3 separate regions of the Homo sapiens genome follow, and all the other regions are linked to region 3. Evidence: promoter capture Hi-C in 16 types of primary human blood cells and fetal thymus (Javierre and others, 2016). All regions are on one chromosome and are shown on one strand. The core of a region is centred on a gene start or on the middle of the fragment in contact, and the rest is flanking DNA. Distances in the headings are between cores, read along the strand shown. Region 1 has its middle 21 kb from the start of GRM1. Region 2 overlaps GRM1 (glutamate metabotropic receptor 1). Region 3 holds the start of ADGB (androglobin).

Evidence for each region. Contacts are between HindIII fragments. The CHiCAGO score rates a contact against its expected background, and 5 or more counts as called.
Region 1: a fragment that was not itself captured here is called in contact with the fragment with the promoter of ADGB in region 3 in 1 of 17 cell types (endothelial precursors); the score reaches 5.3 in endothelial precursors.
Region 2: a contact is called between a fragment that was not itself captured here and the fragment with the promoter of ADGB in region 3, in 1 of 17 cell types (endothelial precursors). The highest score is 5.4, in endothelial precursors.

The regions. Positions count from the first base shown.
Region 1 is chr6:146,006,159-146,009,742 of GRCh38, forward strand. No RefSeq gene overlaps it. Among named protein-coding and RNA genes, the nearest start is that of GRM1, 21 kb to the right of the region's middle. The HindIII fragment of the contact is 3,896 bases long and covers 1-3,584 here.
Region 2 is chr6:146,034,107-146,037,565 of GRCh38, forward strand. The region is part of intron 1 of GRM1 (glutamate metabotropic receptor 1); the gene reads left to right. Among named protein-coding and RNA genes, the nearest start is that of GRM1, 6.8 kb to the left of the region's middle. The HindIII fragment of the contact is 2,309 bases long and covers 165-2,473 here.
Region 3 is chr6:146,596,601-146,600,234 of GRCh38, forward strand. ADGB (androglobin) reads left to right here and starts at 2,372. Exons shown (of 36, transcript NM_024694.4): 1 at 2,372-2,514. The coding sequence starts at 2,441. It overlaps ADGB-DT (ADGB divergent transcript), which reads right to left and starts at 2,331. Exons shown (of 3, transcript NR_125860.1): 1 at 2,233-2,331; 2 at 1,470-1,571. RefSeq lists a silencer at 2,173-2,467. The HindIII fragment of the contact is 3,644 bases long and covers 233-3,634 here.

The DNA of each region.
Region 1 (3,584 bases), core at 643-3,142, 590 kb before region 3:
GTAGAAAATATTTGCAAACTACTTATCTGACAAGATATTAATAACTAGAATGTATAAGGAGCTCAAACAACTCTATAGGAAAAATATAATTATCCAGCCAAAAACTGGGCACAAGATCTGAGTAGACATTTCTCAGACAAACAAATGGCAAACAGGCATTTGAAAAGGGGCTCAACATCATTGATCATCAGATAAATGCAAGTCAAAACTACAATGAGATATTATCTTACCCCAGTTAAAATGGCTTATACCCAAAAGACAGACAATAACAAATTCTGAAGAAAAGGGAACCCTGATACACTGTTAGTGGGAATGTGAATTAGTATAACCACTATGGAAAATAGTTTGAAGATTCCTCAAAAACACTAAAAATATCACTACCACATGATCCAGCAATCTTCCTATTGCTGGGTATATACTCTAAAGAAAGGAAATCAGTATATTCAAAGAGATATCTGCACTCCTATGTTTGTTGCTGCACTGTCCACAATATCCAAGATTTGGAAGCAATCCAAGTGTTCATCAACAGATGAATAGATAAATAAAATGTGGTACATATACACAATGGAGTACTATTCAGCCATAAAAAGAATGTGATCCTGTCATTTGCAACAACATAGATGGAACTGGAGGTCATTATGTTAAATGAAATAAGAAAGGCAGGAAGAAACATCACGTATTCTCACTTATTTGTAGGATCTAAAAGTTAAAACAATTGAACTCATGGACACAGACAGTAGAAGAATGATTATCAGAAACTGGGAAGGGTATTGGGGGTGGATAGGAGGTGGAAATTGTTAATGCGTACCAAAAAATAGCTAGTAAGAATGGGTAAGACCTACTATTTGATAGCACAACAGGGTGACTATAGTAAATAATAACTACACTTTAAAATAACTAAATGAGTACGATTGGGTTGTTTATTACAAAAAGGATAAATGGTTGAGGAGATGGATACCCCATTCTCCATGATGTGATTATTATGCATTGCATGCCTGTATTAAAACATTTCATGTACCCCATAAATATATGTACCTACTATATACCTACACTTGAAAATAAAACATTTTTAAAAATGCAACTAATTTTTGTGTGTTGATCTTGTATCCTTCGACTTTGCTAAATTTGTTTATTACCTCTCGTAATTTTTTGTGTGGATTCTTTAGAATTTTTTTATGTATGTATTTTGTAAATATCCATTTTTTCTATGCAAAGGAATAGTTTTACTTCTTTTTTCCCAATTTGAATGATTTTATTTCTTTTTTCTTGTCTAGTAGTCTTTGGCTAAAATGTTCAGTGCATTATTGAATAGCATTGGTAAAAGTGAGCATCCATGTCTTGTTCCTGATTTCAGGGAAAAGGCTTTATGTTTTTCACTATTGAGTATAATATTAGCTTTTTTTTTCTTTTTTAAATAAATGTGCTTTATCAGGTTGAGGAAGTTCTATTTTATCTCTGATTTTTAAATTAAATTATTTTAATTATTAAAGGGTGTTCAATTTTGCCAAATGCTTTTCCTGTATAAATTAAGGTGGTAAATTTTTAAAAATTTCATTAATGTGTTATATTACATTGAGTGATTCTTGTATATTGAATAACTTGCATTTCTGGGATGAATCATGCTTATGGCATATAATCCTTTTACTGGGCTGCTGTATTCAGTTTGCCAATATTTTTGAAAATTTTTGTATCTATATTCACATGGAATATTAATCTCTTAAACTAATAAAAATATATTATGAATTAACACCACCTTATCTTCAATAGTATACAAAAACTTTGCTCCCTAGAGCTCTACCACCCCCTTTGTGTTGTTTTCACAAAATACATTATGCAGTGTGTGTGCATTGACATGGATTTGTAATTATTGTTTTATACCTGTGGCATTAAATTATATAGGAAAAGAAAGAAGAGTTCCAAACCAAAAATACAATAATACTAATCTTTGAGTTTACCTATGTGGTTATCTTGACCAGTAACATTAATTCTTTGTATGGCTTCAAGTTACTGTCTAGAGTCATTTCATTTCCATCTGAAGAATAGAACTCCTTTGTAGCATTTATTATAGGGCAGTGCTACTGGTGACAAACTCCCATAGCTTATGTTCATCAAATAATATCTTAATTTTGTCTTCATTTCTGAAAAACGGTTTTGCTGAATATACAATACTTAAATGACAGTATTTTCTTTCAGCATTTTAACTCTGTCATTCCTGTTTTCTGGCCTTTATTGTTTCTGCTGAGAAACTGACTGCTAATGTTGTTGAGGATTCCTTGTAACTGTAAATTTGCTTTTCTCATGCTGCTTTCAAGATTTTGTCTCTGTCTTTTACTTCTGACAGTTTAATTGCAATGTGTTTTGGTATGGAACTCTTTGTGTTATCCTTGTTTTGAGTTTGTTCAGATTCTTGGATATCTGCATTTGTGTCTTTATCAACATTGGGAAGTTTGTGACCATTATTTCTTTAAATATTCTTTCTGTCTCTTTCTTTTCTCCTTCTGGAACTCCTATTATTTGTATTATTGTACACTTGATGTTGTCCCATAGTTGTTTGAGGCTCTATTTATTTCTTTTTTGTGCACCTTGGACTAAATCATTTCAATCGACCTATCCTCAAGTATGCTGATTCTTTCTTCTGCCTGTTCAAATCTGCTATGCAAACACTTGTGGATTTTTCATTTCAGTTATAATACTTTTGAGCTCCATTTTTTATACTTTTGCTACCTTTCTTTTATAATTTTTATCTCTTTGTTAATATTCTCTACTTGCTGAGACATCGTTATTTTTGTTTCGTTACACTCTTTTTCAATGGTTTTCTTTAGCTCTTTAAATATATTTAAGAGAGCTGATTTAAAGTTTTTTTCTAGTAAGTCCAATGTTTTTGCTTCACAGGGTCAGTTTCTGTTAATTATTTCTGTGATTAGGGCATATTTCTTTTTTTTTCATACTTTGTATTTTTTGTTGCAAACTGGACATTTTAAATATATAATGTGGTACCTCTGGAAATCAGATTCTCCCCTTTGTCAGGGTTTGGTTTTGCAGTTTTTTGTGGGTTTTAGTTGGTTGCTTGTTTAGTCACTTTTCTAAGTTATTTTGCGACTTCTGTATTCTTTGTTGTGTGTAGTCTCCAATCTGTTTCTTTAGCTTCTATTCAGCTGGTGTTTTGACAGAGTTTTCCTTAAATGCCTGGCTCCAAAAACAAAATGGAACAACAATAACAAAAAAGACAACAAAAGAAGGAAAGAAGGAAGAAAATGTAAAAAAGAAAATAAAGAAATCCTCCTATGCTTTGCAGCTTTTGCTCCTTTGGGACGCTCCCAACTCAGCCAGGGTGTTTACAACTCTGCCTTAGCCTTCACTTCCTGCTTATGCTAAATCTAGACCTGAGTCAGTGGTGAAAGCCTAGAGTGTTCTCAGATCTTTTCTAAGTGTGTGTTCTGCCCTGGTCATGTGCATGGTTTTCTAAATTTTCTTGTTTACATGGGTGCTTTTCAATGCCCTTATTTCTGAAGAATACTCTCCTTTTCTTCTCATGCTTTTGGCATGTCTATTGTTTATCTCAATTGGAATCTCTTGCCTCAGGT
Region 2 (3,459 bases), core at 69-2,568, 560 kb before region 3:
ATTGTGATTAGGGTTTCTAATTAGAGTAGGAGTATATCGGAGTTAAATTGAGAGCAGAATTTCACCTGACTTTTAGTCAGTTCTTCTATGTAATGACCTAAAACAGATTTCTTGAAGTTTCCACCAATCCTTCATTGAAGACTAGGAGTCATCCAAAACATTCAAGCTTCTTTTCCATGTGACATTTATCATCAATGAATAATCTCTCTTTTGTAGTGTAGCTCTCCAGTTCCTTCACTCATGCATTTCATTTTTTACTTCCCTTACCATCATAGCTGACTAGAGTAGATCTTACATCAATTAACATCCCAAGGTCTTTTCAGAAGTGCTGCTATTAATCCATATCTCCTTCCTTTTATGCTTGAACAGTTATTAATTTTGTTACTGTTACCATTAGATTCAAGAGGAGGACTTGAATTTTTTCCCTTTAAATGTAAAATTATTAGCTTCAATCTGCCTTTCTAACATCAGTAAGTTCTGGGATTTTGATTGTTTAATTTATCTTAGTATTCCAGCTTTGTGTCTCCAGGATTTAACCATATACGTTAAAACCTGAATAAGATAAGGGTCGAAAGTAAAGTCTCAAACCCTTTCACGAGCAAACTACCTGGCTAATTCTGGTGTTCACTCAGCCTATTATGAATTTCTTCTATACAGTGCTTTTCCTCCTCTTACTATACTACCTTGCAAATGTATAAATGGCTATATGTAGTTTAAATGAAAAGTCATCACAACAGATGACTTTAAGTAAAGATTTACTGCATAAAAACTTTAAATAACAATTTTGAAGACTTAATTTCGGTTACTAAGTAGTTTTTACTTTAAGGGGAGTGCAGTTTAAATACATGTAAAGTAAGTAAAAGCAATCACAGTATAGACATTTATAAACATGAGTTTATTCAATTGTAGGGAACTGAAAGAATGTATTAGTGGTGCAATTATCTAGAGAAAACCTGGAGAAAAGGGAATTTTGGTTAGAGTTTTGTTTGGAAACATAGCATTTGTAAAAGAGACAGTATTGAAAGTACTGTAATGGTGTGAAAAAAACAGATTTGCTTATCTGGAGGAAAGAGTCTGGGGTAAGAACTAATAATAAAAACAGAAGTAAGTCCTAATATTCTGTGATTACATCAGTCTTTATAGACATGAAGGACAAGTAATGGAGAATCTTGAAGCATGTGACAAAGAGTTTTGGTTTCAAGAAAGATACATCCAAGCACAGTTAGACATGTGAACTTTGGCCAAGAGAACATATATTATTGGCAAAAGTTGGTGAGTGGACGAAAGAAAAGCCAGATATTGTTACGAGATACTTTATTTGTAATTTTTTAACAAGTGTTCATATCCAAGTAAAACCTTGTTTATCCATAACCTTGATTCTCTAGCTGTCTACTTTATACTTGAGAGTTGGTCTCTTTAAACACCAACATTTACATTTAAAACATTTTATGAGGTGATCTTTGCAAACACTACTGTAAGGTCCCCTAACTTCTTTTAAAGACAGTGCTCAATTTAATGGACATTTTCCTTGAATATACCAAGTTATCGTGAACATAAATTTTTACCTTGCGCTGGAATATGGTGGTAATCTTGGAGCCTGTTAAAAAAATATAAGGCCATTTATTATTACTCAAAATGGCCACAAATTGCCATACTTAAAAATTTTTATCTTTATTTTTTCTTTTATATCTTGGCTGGATTTATTAAACTCATTTTTAAAGTCATTAATCAGTATTTAGCAAACAGCTATTATGTGCATAGAATTAGAGTGAAATCCAAAGACGAAAAAAATGACACTTTCATTATTTTGAGTAAACTTGAACTCTTTGTGATTCCTTTGCCACACAATCACCCTGTGACTACGTTTATCTTGCTGCAAATTTTATAAGAAGCTGTCCTTCATAGGGTAGGTGGTGATGGCAGCTTCCATTTTATGTTTCTACCGTGTGGCTTGGCAGTAGCCATCCTTCTACAAGTATTAAAATTTTTGCCCTTATGATATAGGGAGCTAATATACAATAACTGCTTTGTGGATTTTCAGTAACTGGGCAGTGACTGGAGTGATGGGTTCACAAAGAGACTTATCAAAAGTCGTGTTTTCGGCATACACTTTTTTAAGAACACAGAGGGCTGGGGAACCACATCCAGAAAAGAATAGTTTGGTGAACACCTACAACCACTAAAAAAACTCATGGCACATGCTGTTCTGATATATGTTGGAAACAGCATGTCAGTAGGAGAAAGTTGTCAATTTTCAGAGAAGCTGTAGTTGAAAACCAGAGTCAAGACAAGGCATAAAGCCTTGTCAAAATGTCACTGTCTTATGCAACAGAGAGTTATCATTAGATTCTAAAATTATATAGAAATATTTGCTACTTTTTCCTGTTTAATTGTTCTCTATGAATGTCTACAACATTTAAAATCTTAACTTACATGAGAAATTATAATTTTAATTACCTTCTGTATTCCAGAAAGCTTTACTCTCTTAAACTTAAGGCATTGTAGTACCAAATAGAACATTAATGTTTTTATGAAGAGAATTGCTTCTCAGAAATCTCCAATTATCAATTTTAGGATTATCTATTTTATTTATTTCATAGCCAACAAATTAAATATTCAAGGCAATTATCTAAATATCCAGGTAAAAGCCTTAATTTGTAGTAGAAGCACAGGATTTTGATAGGCAGAAATTCTTTGATTACCTAGTAACTAATTTGCCTTCTAATAAAGACATTTATAAATAAACACGTGACTATTATGCATCACATATTTTTCTTGGTGCTAGTAACACATAAAGTAATAAAAATCAATAATAATAACTATTATTACTACTAATATTTGTTGGAAGAGACATGTAAATATATAGACAGTTATAGGCTCATGGGTTAAAAAGAAAATGTTTAATTACTGTTTTGAAAAATGCACAAAACATATGGGAAATACTGTATGCATGCACATCTCAGTTTCATTTGTAAAATGGGAATTATAATCACTACCATGTTATATTCCTCACAGCAGCTTTTCAAAGAACAAGAAGATGGTACCCATAAATACATTTCAGTTGTTTTTCTTAAACTGCCACCAAAGCGATGACTTCTTCTCAGCTGATGAATATTAAGCAAGTCCAAGAAGCCAGTTAATTGGATACAGATTTTCGACCCTAAACCTAGTAATATAAGATTAAAATGAAATTCATGATTAAGATAAAGGTGTAGCATCTACTATAGACTTTAGGAAACTTTCTTGTTACAAATGAGAAAACAAAAGCCCAGAAAAATAAAACAAAATGACTTGCTCAAGATCATAAAATTCATCAGCAGCAAAGCTAGGACTAATTTAGCTTTGTTTTAGATACTTTCTCAAGCCAAAGTTTTCTTTCTTTCTTTCTTTCCTTTTTAACCCTCATGCACGCCTCTCATGTGAGGTCCATACTATTTAGCTCAACTGTGTCTTTCCAAC
Region 3 (3,634 bases), core at 1,122-3,621:
TGGAAGTTAAATAACTCACCCATAATTACCCAACAAGAGTCAGGATTTAAATTCAAGTTTATCTCTAAAGGAGTTAGCACCCTTCCCTAAACCTTGCATGTAGTAGGTACTCAATAAATCACAGCTATTATTATTATTATTCCAAAGTGACATTGACAACAGTTATAAGAAAAATAAAAACAGCAGTAGGACCTATTGTCTTTTTTGCACTGCCACAATAAATATCATGTTAAGCTTTGTAGCTAGAACTATCTTAGAGAGGAACAGATTTGCTCTTATAATTACAGCCTGACCAGAACCTTAGCTCCAGAAAGAAGAGAAATTCCATTTATGCATGTTGCACTCTTAATATAATAAAGGAGAAAGAACACTGGCGTAGGAATTAATAGGCAACTTATACTCGTCACATCTTTTATGATTATCTTATTCCATTCTGGTGACAACCCCCTTACTTTATCCTAATTTAATAGATGTTTAAAAAGCAAGCTCTGAGTGGAGTAGTGATATGTTTGGCTTAAACTGGCAATGCTGACTTTAATGTGTTTAGTCCAAATTCCATCAATAAATAACCCAGCAACTTTTGGCAAGACATTTTGCTTGTCTTCGCCTGGAGTTATTTGTCCATAAAATACCGGTGGGATGTAGATCTTTTGATTTCTAAGGCTTATCTTCCCTAATTCTTTTGGCATCTTGCAGCCATTAACAATGGCTGCAGGATAGCCCTTGTTCAAGAAGAAACTCACCTCTCTGTGGGGTTGGCTGCTTAAAGTTGTGCTGTTTTCAGCCAAGAGTCTTTGTATATACTTATAGCTATAAATTTGATTACTCTGACAAAATTTGGTAGTAAATAATTTTTCTCACCATTTAGTCCTCTACTTTCATTCAAGAGAGTTCTCTGGAAATTTGAATTATGGTATAAACAAAGCAGAATCTTCATGATGTGTTCATTGTCTTTACATATATAGGAGATGTTTGCAGGGCAGTCTTGTAGTCATAATATTAACACTGCTGACTTGGAATTTATTTATTTTGCATATAGAAATACAACGAAGGGGCTGTCTGTCATCTAGGTAACCCCCAGTAGTAATCCAATAGTAATAAGATTGGGATAGTCTGACAAACCATAGGCTATGCTGAGTGGAGAGCCCTGAGCATTCATTTGTCAGAGAAGTTGAAAGATTTTCTCTGCAGGAAGCTGCCTCTTGCCTGCACAGGTGGAACTGTGAGCATGTGCCCAGTCCCATGAGTGGAGGGGATTTCTTTTATTTAAAGATACTTAACTATTTCTAGGCTCATGAAAGACACCAACCAGTAGTAGTGGTCCTAGGCCTAAGGGCTGTGTGTCAGATATCTCTGAAGTGAGGTTATATTGAACCAACACAATATTTTGTTTTGTTTTGATAAATTTGCAAGCTCTTGCAGTCTAAGCATGTCTCAGTTAAGCATAGTATCCACTACTCTGTATTTACCTGGCCAACTTCATTCATTCACGCTGTCTGCTGCTCCTCGAAACCAGGTGGTCTGTCATCTCTGAAAGAGTGGCTCCTATTTGCTGCGCTTTGCATCTTATCCTCAAAACAGAACTGTGAGTTAGGTATAACTCCTATTTATAAGTGAGTAATAGGCATCTCCTATTTATAAGTGAGTAAACTGAGACTCAAAGGGAAAAACTAGCCCAAGGCAAGATAACTAACAAATCACCACTGATGACTGAGCCTTAAGCCTGCGCCCTAATAAGTTTCATTTTACTTGGTTCTGTCTGTGTCATCTGGCCCCTGGACCTTTTCTGGAAAGTCTGCAAAGGACCACCTGAGCCCATGACTTGGACTCACTCTTTCATTCGAACAACAAGACACCTTATTGGTTTTATTACAGATATCATCACCTAGCCCTCAGCGACTCAAGGTGTCATTATTTTGCCTTCCTTACACCCACTGTGTTAATTTCTGGACCCCAGGTTTTCAAGCCATTGACAATTTCAGCGTGTCTGTAATGTCTCCTTAGTAATTATTGAAGGTACTTGTTATATTTAGCCAAGAGAATAACTGGGGTGGTACTAGGATAACATCTACGTTCAAATAGTTGGATATTCAAGAGTCGATATATGTCTATGGTTCCGAAGGGCAAAGCCAGGCAGTGTAGGTCCTGCAGAACTCCAATTAATCAGGGCTGCCCAGTAATCCTAATGCCAAACCCGTGCCCCAGAACCTCGATTTCTCCCCAGACACCAACTCCAAGTTCCTCCACGGGGATGTGGGATTTCAGTTTATGCTCTTGCGTCCCTCTGCAGCCACAGGCCGCAGAGCCCGCCCCCAGGGCCCCGCCCCCGCTCTCCGGGCGCTGGACGCGGGACGCCGTCTCCTGGCAACGCAGACGCGGAGCCGAGCGCGCCCGCAGGCTCTTTGCTCAGAGCTCAGCCCTACATAGATCGGCTTCTGCCATGGCCTCCAAACAAACCAAAAAGAAAGAGGTGCATCGTATCAACTCGGCGCACGGATCGGATAAATCGAAAGAGTAAGGGACCTCTGCCTGTCCGTCCCTCCCCTGGCCTAGCCCCTCGACCTCACCACTAGTTCTGGGGCTGCCTCCCTGCAGCAAACTGTGCCAGGGCAGAAGTTTAGTGGCCTCCTCGCAGCTTGTCTTCTCTGGTAAACCAGATCCTGGAGGTGCTCGCTCTCATCCTTCTCTCTTGCTTGTCTTGACTCACTTCCTTTCCCAGAGCCCCTGATTTTCTTGCTTTGGGTGTTCAGCTCCCATGGGTGAATCTGCCACCCCTCCTCTTCTTCATAGCCCTCTCAGGCAGTTAGAAAGGCCATAGCTTTCCTAAGAAAGAGGCATATCTCAAATACTTCTGGTTAAAGCCACATCTTCATGGCCCCGGAAATGATACAGACAGCGAGTGACAGACAGACATGGACACATTTCACCTTAATGGTGATTTTCTAGTTTGCATCTGCCCAGTCCAACGACTACGATCTTTAATCAGATATAGTCAGACGTAAAGTGGCTTCTAAACCTTAAAACATTATAAATGTATAGTTCATGTTACTAACATTTACTCTGAGAAAGTAAACAGACCCTCGCTCATGGAATTTTTATGGTGCCTTTGTCCTGGGCTGGTGTTAGGTGTTGTGTCTTAGGATGTACTTCCCCATGATTATTATTTTCTGTGGTCTGTTTCCCTAGGGATATCCAGTTATCCACAGCATAGGATTGGGGCTGTTTGAACTTACACCATTTCTAATGTTCATTCCCACTGTGAGAGAATCCCAGCTGCCCGCCCTGCTTCAGTGGGATCATTCATGTTCTTCATGCTCTGCCTGATGGGGAGGGCGATGCAATCAATCATTTCAAATTGAATTCTTACATCCTTGATGCCTGTTTCTCCATTTCCTTCCCTGGCTGAAGAATTCCACATTGGACTGATCCCTATGATTCACTGATCCCTAGGATTTAAACTCTTTTTCTTTGTGAATTCTTCTCCCAGACTCATTCCCATGTCTGTGAATCTCTAGTCCCTTAGTTCTAACCTCTCTCATAAGCAGGTTTCCAGTTACCCGGCAGATAATCCATTCCTTTTACTAGCTTAAATTTTAGATATTACATATATAAGTAATATTACATATATAATTTT